2 separate regions of the Homo sapiens genome follow, and region 2 is linked to region 1. The links are contacts of gene promoters, found by promoter capture Hi-C in human tissues and cell types (Jung and others, 2019). All regions are on one chromosome and are shown on one strand. Each heading gives the region's core, a stretch centred on a gene start or on the middle of the fragment in contact. The rest is flanking DNA. Distances are from core to core; before and after follow the strand shown. Region 1 holds the start of POSTN (periostin). Region 2 overlaps SUPT20H (SPT20 homolog, SAGA complex component).

Region 1 (4,755 bases), core at 2,153-4,652:
AAGTAAGTTGCAAACTACATGTAGATTGCAAATAGGCCAGAAAGAAAGCAAAGTGATGCTCAAGAAATGTTTTCACGATCCTGTAACCTATATGTTAAAAAGCAGGGGCTTAGAAATAATTTGGCACAAATAGCTACTCTGGATCATGCAAAACCAAGGAAATTTTTACTTTTAAAAAATCTGCACTTGGCTTGAGTATCCAGGTTTGTTGAATCCACAGTCTATGTCCAATCTTAGACAGTATAGGGCAAGTTTAAGGTTAGTTACATGCTGGCGGCAGTAAGCATGATATTACAATGAGTTCATAGTCTCCAGAGGCTACAAGTCTTGTTACAAAGATCCACTAGATAATTTGCAAACTGACAATACATTAGCATCCCGACAGCTAGAAACAAATGATCCTCTCTTTCAGTCACATTATTTTTCTTCAGTTACATAGTAAACCATTTAGTTTTCATGAATGACTTATATTTCTGGGTCACATTTTGCAACCCTGAAAGTCAGACTTAATTATCATCATTTCAATTTTCCTCCCATCTCCCAGGAAAATTACATGGACAACCCCAGGGTCACTGTCTTTTTCTGATGCAGAAGAATAAGGGTCCTGTGTGAAGAGAGACGGTGGGGGGCAGGGAAGAGAGAGAGAAAATTTGACCCTTGATGAGTGCTCAGAAAGGGAAGAATTATGTTCCTTGCAAGATTCTCAATATCTTCTCTAAAACTTGGACTACTCTTTCTTCCATTATCTTTCTTACAACTGTTTCCTTCCCTTATCCTACCGAAAACTTGCTGAGACTTCCTCCCACTATTAGGCATATAATATCACACTTCTGGCCTGGCCTTAGCTTTTTAAGTTCCAGTGCTATAATCTTTTTATGTTTACCCTAATTTTTTCCTTCTCTTGGGATATTCCCCAACATCTAAATTTGCAGGTAGTTTGTATGCACACCTGGCTTGCATTGTCAAGATCTTTCGTGATGTCATTACTAATCCTAACTTTAAATACTGAGGGCTGCTATTTGTTGATTTTCATGGGACTTACACAAGTTCCAGAAATAATGCTCAGGATGGATAGACTTATGGTCTCTATTATTTGAAGTGTGAAAAGAAAGATTTAAGACCTCTCTTTTAATTGTATGAGCATATATCATGCTTTCCACAAAAAAGCATAAATTAATCTCACCTGTCAGAAGGGAGAAGTAATCTTTTGAAATATGACTGCATTTCCATCTTCACTACTCATTTCATGTAATTATTTGTCAATTTAGACAACTGCAAGAGCCACGATGAATGGAAGCCATTAATACTAGTGCATAAAACTGGTTGCAAAGAACGACTAGGTTAAAATTGTTCTTGAAAATAATCAATAAAATTTTAATTCGTTCCAGGCAATATTAAGAAAGCAGGCAACATGGCAGGAAATTTTGATTCTTCCTTCACTCCTTGTATTCACAATCAGGTCTATCAGTTATCATTCCGGACTGTATTTAAAAATATATATTTTTTTACCCTTGATACTTATTACACAAGTCTATATCTCTTTCTCTGAGTACCTCATCCTTCACCTCCAGTCAAACCCTATTGGATTTGAGCAGATATCAGCTTCATTACAAAAAGGTCTGTAAGTAGTTACATCAGTCTAAAGATGAAAAGTGTGGCATTAGTAGCAGTGTAATCTATATTATAATGTCTAACTGGTCTAGAGTTGAAGACTTTTATATATCCATTTAACCAGGAATGTCCTAACAGCTAATTTAATAATATTGATAGTTTATCCGTCCTAATCAATAAGCAGTTACTGACCACCTGCCATTTGCACAACATAAGAGTAATAGAAAGCTATAATATAAAGCAAAAGATGACTTCATAAAGTCAGAATGATTCCATTCAGAGAAATGTAAATGATAGACTAAACTCTTCCTTCCACAAAGGACCAGGGTCAGAATATAATTTAACTTTTATGCTATCTCCTCTCCAGCTCTTCTTTTGAATTGCCCCTTCATTTTCTATAACTTAATCCCAAGATTTTCATATTGAAATGGCCTCTCGATCATATTTCAGCATTTGTGGTTTCACTGTGTGCTTTCTTAATAAACTAAGCAGCAAGTTGTAGAATATTTTAATATCCCATAGTGAGTTTAAGCATAACTCAGGATACTCAGAATCCTCTCTAGTTCAGTCCAGTTCCCCTAAAGCCTTCCCAATAGAACAACAAGGAGAATTCTGACAAAATCTCTCTACCTCACCAGTGGGAAAAGAACATGGATATGACATTACAGAGGGAGCATCTTGTAGCAAAATGGATTGGAATTACACTTTAGGATGGTGTGCAGCTTGTTTATTCAAGGAAGCTGATTGTGGTTACCATTTCAGCTCATTGTTTCCCTCTGATATTCAGATTTCTTTTATCCAAAGTTTTCTGAACATTTGACATATGCATGGAGTAGTAAGAACGCACATTCCTTTGGCTAGGGATTGCATAGTGTAACATTGAAAGGCTTTAGTTATTCTTGATAAAATCAGAAGAATCATTTTGGCAATGTCCATGTTTCCTAATATGTATTTAATTGTTCTAGTTATCTCTAGATTCGTAACACTTGCTTCCAATATTGGCTGCTTTTCACCAGTGGTTATCAGTAGATGTGCTGCATAGACATGTTCAACATCACATAAAGTGTGTCATGAAAAACAATAAAGCACAAATGTTTTTCCTTTCTGCTTCATTTCAAACCTTAGAGAAATTTGTCAGAGTAGATTTATGTTAACTCTATATGTTCCTTGATATTTGAAAAAGAAAGGAAATGAGAGGTAGCTCTCCTTTTTGTACGATAGCAAGGAAAATATGGACTCTCCTACATGGTTCTTCAGCAAGTTAGAATTCTTATTTCATATCTTACACAAGTTTTAAATCTATCCAGAGTTTGTTTTTAATCAACAGCCTTTACCCCCTTGTGATTGTCAGACTCGCATCTACCTTTGTTTTCTGGTAAAAATAATAATAATAATAATCTTTCAGTTCTGATGTGAACTGCAATAACACCTAACAATAATCTTGAGCACACAGACATTATACATTCTACTCTGGAAAGGATTGCAGAATATCTCTTAAAACTCAACAAAAGAATTTTTCTTAAAAACCCTCTAAGATACAAAGGAATAAAACTGAGACTTAAACATGCAGTGAGTCAATTGTTCATATGATTAAAAATAAGTACCTTCTTTATAATGAAAAGGAAAAGTAGCTCAATGTGTTCCTTAAATATAACTAACCAAAACAAATCTTAGCTGGCAATTTGAAGTTGCCGATGCTTCCTGGAAAGAGTTCAGACTCTCAGGTTGATGCAGTGTTCCCTCCCACAACTCTGACATGTATATAAATTCTGAGCTCTCCAAAGCCCACTGCCAGTTCTCTTCGGGGACTAACTGCAACGGAGAGACTCAAGATGATTCCCTTTTTACCCATGTTTTCTCTACTATTGCTGCTTATTGTTAACCCTATAAACGCCAACAATCATTATGACAAGATCTTGGCTCATAGTCGTATCAGGGGTCGGGACCAAGGGTAAGTGAGTGGTTTGGTTTTATAAACCATTTTTCTTTTTCCTCAGCTTGTTAGATGTTCAAGTATGCATAAAGTTTCTCATATATGCCTCAGGGTTTTTTTTCCTAATTATTATAAAGTAATAGGAAAAAAAGGAAAATGTGAGTATTCTGTGATTTATCTATGCACTTTTAAGCTTTAAGACTTAATTGCTCTCTAAATACCTTGAATATAATTGCTTTCTTATGAAATGTTATATAATTCTAATCTAATTAACACAATTTAGCTGGGCATTCTTTTATAATTCCATTTATTTATGTTTTTATTTTCTTCCAAAAATCTGAAATTGAGTTTTCAAAATTAAAAAATCTATTGTTAGGAACTATCATATGTATGCAAACAGCATTGAAATATCTCACATGATGTTAGAGAAAATTTTATTTAAATTACATATGAAGGTTAAATACTGGGTAATGTAACTAGTTCTCTGAATTCTTTGAAGCATTTAAGTTACTTTTAAACTCTGAATTCTGTAAAATTTGCAAAGGTAATTTATATTTTATAGAACTAATGCAACTACAACTAAGCATTTTTAAAATTACACATAATTTTGTAACTTATCCAACCATTTATAATTTTTTAAGCGGATCTTGGCACTTCTTCCTATGCCTCACAGGAATTTTCATAATGTTCACAAGCTTCTTTGACTTACAGTGAAAAAAGACTTCTGTCCCTTTAAGAGGGGAAGGGGAACCTTAAAATTGTGACAGAGGATGTTCTGATCTGTTACTTCCATTCAAAAAGATAAATTCTCCTTTGTGCAACCATATTGTTTCAAAGTTAATTTTAGCACATTTACTTCTGTGATTACTTACCTAGAAAATTACAGAGTATAGTGTCTGTGTACATAATAAACCTTGTCTCTTTTGCTCTCTGACCTCTCATTGTTCCAGAGAGCCCTGAAGTTATGGCCATCCTCCAAATGAGCACATGCTTGGTTTAAAAAGGGTCAGTAGATTATCTACCATTAAAAGTAATAAGGCACATAGAAATAAAATTACGTTCATACTGTTTGAATAGTCCTAGTTGGTTAACTTTTTGAAAAGCTTGTATTTTACTCTCAGAAATGTATAATTTTTCTCTCTCTCCCTGCCACCTCCTGTAGACTTTCGGTTTTTCAACAATTCAGTAGGATTGTGTCAATAATTAGATTT
Region 2 (4,978 bases), core at 1,619-4,118, 580 kb after region 1:
AGAACTAAATGAAGTATGAAAGTGCCTTTGGTAAGCTAGAAAGCATTATACAGATGTCATCCACTTTTAAAAGGGGGTTAAGCCATTTTCTTAAATGAGAATTTTTCCAGAAAGGGATATTTTTGCCAAATTTCAGTTTCTTATACAAGGCTTCGCTAGTGTTACATGTGCATTTCTTCCCTTAAATCTTTAAAAAAAAAAAATGATATGATAGAGAACTAGATACATTTTTAAATAGTGTTCAAATTAGTATATTTTGTTAGCAAAATATATACATACCTTGAGACCAGGATCAACAAACTACAGCACACAGCCTAAGCTAGAAATGGTTACTACATTTTTATAGGATTATGAAAAGAAAATGCAGCAGAGGCCATTTGTGCTCACAAAGCCCACATGATGGCCCTTTATTGAAAACGTTTGTCACCCCCAGCTTTAAGATATGCTCTGTGTTAATGTAACAGATTTTTTAGGAATAAGTTTAAATTAACAGAGCACTGTTTCCTGACTCTGTTTTGATCTTTATACACAAATTGCAACATTCTTTAGCATTCTGATTAACATTTTTAGTTAAAAAAAAATAGCATAAAGCACACCGGTTCTTAGAGATATGATTATTATAGTATACTATGTAGCATTGAGAAATGTAAATAGATGCCAATACCTGGAATGTATTTGCACAGCAGTGATAGTTTTGTTATATTCATGGTGTTCACATAATTCTTGATTACTCTTTGTTCAGCCAACAGTCAGAAGAATGAAAAAGAAGTCCCAGTTTCTGAAATATAGAATATAATGTGCATCTGGTGCTTCACAACTTTGAATAAAATCTCAGTATTGATAAATATTGAAGACAATCTTTTGTTTTTAAGATATTTTTGAAGTATGGAAAATAAGCACATCTATGCAGAGAATACATAAAATTATTGTACTTATATATACTAAAGTATAAATTATTTTCATGTGTAATAAACTTTCAATTCTGTTATAACCATGAGTTTTATTTAACAGGTGTTCCATTTGGTTTAAAAAATACTTCAAGTCTCAGGCCCTTAAATCTACTCCAGGTAAACCTGAAATACTGCTTTTGATTAAATTTTTTGTACATTGACTTTTTTTCTAAACAATGTATATCTATATGTATCAGCACTTGAAATTCTGAGGTCTGTTTAGATTCTTCTAAGGGTGTGGTTATTATTGCTACCTTTGTATGATCAAGCGGATAAAGAGAAAGAATCAGTATCCTATATACCACACTTTGGCTCCAGTAGCCCTGCCTAATTAAGAACTAGCTGTGCTAGTGGGGAGAATTTGCACCTACCAAGGAGGATACTTCCCTACAATAATAATAGTGGATGTATTTAGAAAATAATTGCTTTCCCAACAGATGTTTTATGTATACATATATGTAATACTGGTTTTTTTTTGTGCTTGAAGGAGATTTAAAAAATAGGTATGTGGGCCGTACATGGTTGCTCACACCTAGAATCCCACCACTTTGGGAGACCCAGGTGGGTGGATTGCTTGAGCTCAGGAGTTCGAGACCAGCCTGAGCAATATGGTAAAACCCCATCACTACAAAAAGTTAGCCAAGCGTGGTAGCATGCACCTGTAATCCCTGCTACTCAAGAGGCTGAGGTCGGAGGATCACTTGAGCCCAGGAAGTCGAGGCTGCAGTGAGCTGACATTGTGCCACTGCATTCCAGCCTAGGCAACAGAGTAAGATCCTGCCTCAAAAGAAAAACAAGGGGGGTGAATTTACAACATTCCTCGTGTTATGCTAGGTCCTCTAATTTAAAGAAGGAGTAAGCTTTAAGCTAGTAGTTTGGAAAATGGATAGACGTGACTATAAAGATCTGGATATGTAACATAGTAGAGCTATGGATTGATGGGAAATAACAATAACAGATCAGCCACCCTGGTATTCAGGATTAACAAATCGGGAAATTCTCATTAGAGCTAAAATTTAAAACTTGTTTCCTATATACGATGCAGTATGTTTACAGACTAATTGCAGAACAATATACTTATAATATGGGCAAGCCCACAAATTGCATTTGTTTATTTAGCCTACCTTCCGGCATATTGCTTTTGAAATTTTCTTAGGGATCAGTCTCAGTGTTAACAGGAATGGAAATCCTTTAGTTTGTTATATTTTTCTACATTTACTGTATACTGATTGAGGAAGGAACATTTGATCTGTGCTGTGTCTAGATTTACCTAATGATGAGCTGTGATGGATATAGATAGATACTTTGACCCAAGGATTTTTTATTTTTTTTTTATTATTATTTTTTTGACTATACAGACCTAAGAGTTCTGTATTTGGTATTGTCTTGGACATTCTCCTAAGGACCTCAAAGTGGTCCGTATATAAACCCCTATAGCTTAAAATGGAAAAACTGTTTGTTTTTTGGTGCATTTGAAAAGCATTGTTTTCCCTTTTAACCTGGAGTTTTCTGAGTGCTTCTTTAAAAATTGTTTTTTAATTTGGATTAAATTCAAATTAGATTTGAATGAAAGAGAAAGTAGTGGTCTACAGAATAAATATGGACATCTAAATGCACTTTCTTTTCAGCTTTGAAATTCCTCACTGTGTTATACAAAAGATCTTGTATAATATTTGTGTTTTTGGCAAAACTAGAACAAATTTATGAGGGGTGGCTTTTCGTAGTATACATTTCTGATTCATAAGCTGCTTGTTTGTACTTTCTAATGTATTTAGTGCTCTTTTGTATTGATGTATAAAAAGAGTGAAATGAAAAATAGCATGTGAATTGGAATAGCTAACTACTAGCTTGAAGCAGAAAAATTTATGTTTAAGAGTATTAGCATACTTGGGAGCCCAAAGTAATAGGACTTAAAAACAGTTTCTAAATAGGTCTTTTTTTTAAGGGCAGCCAACTTGTTTTTTCTTTACCTGTTTCTTCAATAACTAGAAGAGTGACACATAGCAAATGATCCAAAAATATTTGTAGAATAAATTTAAATATTTGATATAAAATCATGTGAAATTGGTTAATTTTTGTTTAAATTCTTAATAGCTTCCAGGTGGTTCACTTATTTTTAACACTCTGCAGCAGCAGCAACAGCAGCTCTCCCAGTTTACACCACAACAACCTCAGCAGCCCACAACTTGTAGTCCTCAACAGCCAGGGGAGCAGGTATGGATTTTCTAGCCTTCCATATGCTTTTACATCGAATTTATAACATTTTTTGGTATATTCCAAGCATACTTCATTTGCTTTGTTAGTGTAAACATTTCCTGTACTGTTTTTATTAACAATAGTAGCAATCAGCTATTGGGTGTGTATTCCTAATAAAACAGTCATACCATACTGAATAGATGGTATCACCTGCATCTTGCATAGATGATTGAGATCCAGATAAATGGCTTGCTCTTAGCCATACAGTGAGTGGCAGAGCCAGAGATTCAAACCTAGGTCTTTGTGCCCCTATCACTCATGTATTTTCTACCCCATCATTATCTTTCTGTTTTTAGGATTTTGTTGCTATTGGAATAAAGATATCCCTATTATCATAAAATGTAGGGCAGTGGGAACACAGACAAAAACAAATGTGTACACTGCCAAAGGGAAAGAAATTGAATAAGAATTGCAATAAATGACAGTAGAAGAAGGAAGTACAAGTGTTTCTAAACTTTGGGTACACTGGAGTCATCTGGGAAATTAAAAAAATATTGATTCCTGAGTCCCAAATCCAGAGTTTCTCTATCTCACAAATTATATGAAATATTCACCATTAGTCCTTTTGCCCAGTTTCCCCCAGTCAGGTCTTGGTTGGATAAAGCTCATCCTCTAATAGAGTCCTCAGGAAGGGCACATTAAAAACTTACTGTTTTTTCATTCTAAACACATTAAAGATTGCTTGGCTAGATATAAAATCTTTGATTTTCTTTTAAAAAAATTAATTTTAAGGTACACATAAAATTTACCATTTTAACTTTTTTTTTTTTTTTGAGACAGAGTCTCGCGCTGTTGCCCAGGCTGGAGTGCAATGGCACAATCTTGGCTCACTGCAACCTCCACCTCCTGGGTTGAAGCGATTCTCCTGCCTCAGCCTCCCGAGTAGCTGTCGCTACAGACATGTGCCACCACGCCCGACTAATTTTTTTTTTGTATTTTTAGTAGAGACGGAGTTTCACCATGTTAGGATAGTCTTGATCTCCTGACCTCGTGATCCGCCCACCTCAGCCTCCCAGACTGCTGGGATTACAGGCATGAGCCACCGTGCCTGGCCAAAACTTACCATTTTAACTTCTTAAGTGTGCAATTCAGCAGTGTTAAGTGTATTCACATTGTTATGCAACAGATTTCTATTATAGAACTTTTTCATCTTGCAAAACTGAAACTATATCTGGTAAATAACAACTCCTCCCCTCGGCCACTATTCTACTTTATGTTAGTATGAGTTTGACTATTCAAGATACCTCATATAAGTGCAGTTATATAGTTATTTGTCCTTTTGTGTTTGACTTATGTCACTTGGCATAAAGTCTTCAAGGGTCATTCATTTTATAGCATGTGTCAGAATCACCTTCCTTTTTCATGGTGAATAATACTTGTATATACCATATTTTGTTTATCCATTCATCCACTGATGGATACTTGGGTATCTTCCACCTTTCGGCTATTGTAAATAATGCTAGTGTGAGTGTGAGTGTACAATTATCTCTTTGAGACCCTGTCTTCAACTCTTCTGGATATATACCCAGAAGTTGGATTGCTGGTTCATGTGGTAATTTTTAATTTTTTAAGAAGCATCATACTGTTTTCCATAGTGGCTGTACCATTTTACCTAATTCCCATCAACAACATACAGAGATCTCGATTTGTCCAAATCCTCGCCAACTCTTGTTATTTTCTGGTGGTGGTTGGGTCTTTAGGGAATTTTTTTTTTTTTTTTTTAAGCAGCCTTCCTAATGGGTGTGAGGTGATAATCCCATTGTGGTTTTGAT

The links. The method cuts DNA at HindIII sites, captures the fragments that hold promoters and counts their contacts. A contact is called where the count stands out against the background at its distance.
Region 2: a fragment that was not itself captured here is called in contact with the fragment with the promoter of POSTN in region 1 in 1 of the 25 tissues and cell types used here (dorsolateral prefrontal cortex).

The regions. Positions count from the first base shown.
Region 1 is chr13:37,597,415-37,602,169 of GRCh38, reverse strand. POSTN (periostin) reads left to right here and starts at 3,402. Exons shown (of 23, transcript NM_006475.3): 1 at 3,402-3,562. The coding sequence starts at 3,444. The HindIII fragment of the contact is 6,079 bases long and covers 1-3,988 here.
Region 2 is chr13:37,015,431-37,020,408 of GRCh38, reverse strand. SUPT20H (SPT20 homolog, SAGA complex component) reads left to right here. Exons shown (of 26, transcript NM_001014286.3): 22 at 1,012-1,067; 23 at 3,045-3,164. Among named protein-coding and RNA genes, the nearest start is that of EXOSC8, 17 kb to the right of the region's middle. The HindIII fragment of the contact is 7,415 bases long and covers 1-4,978 here.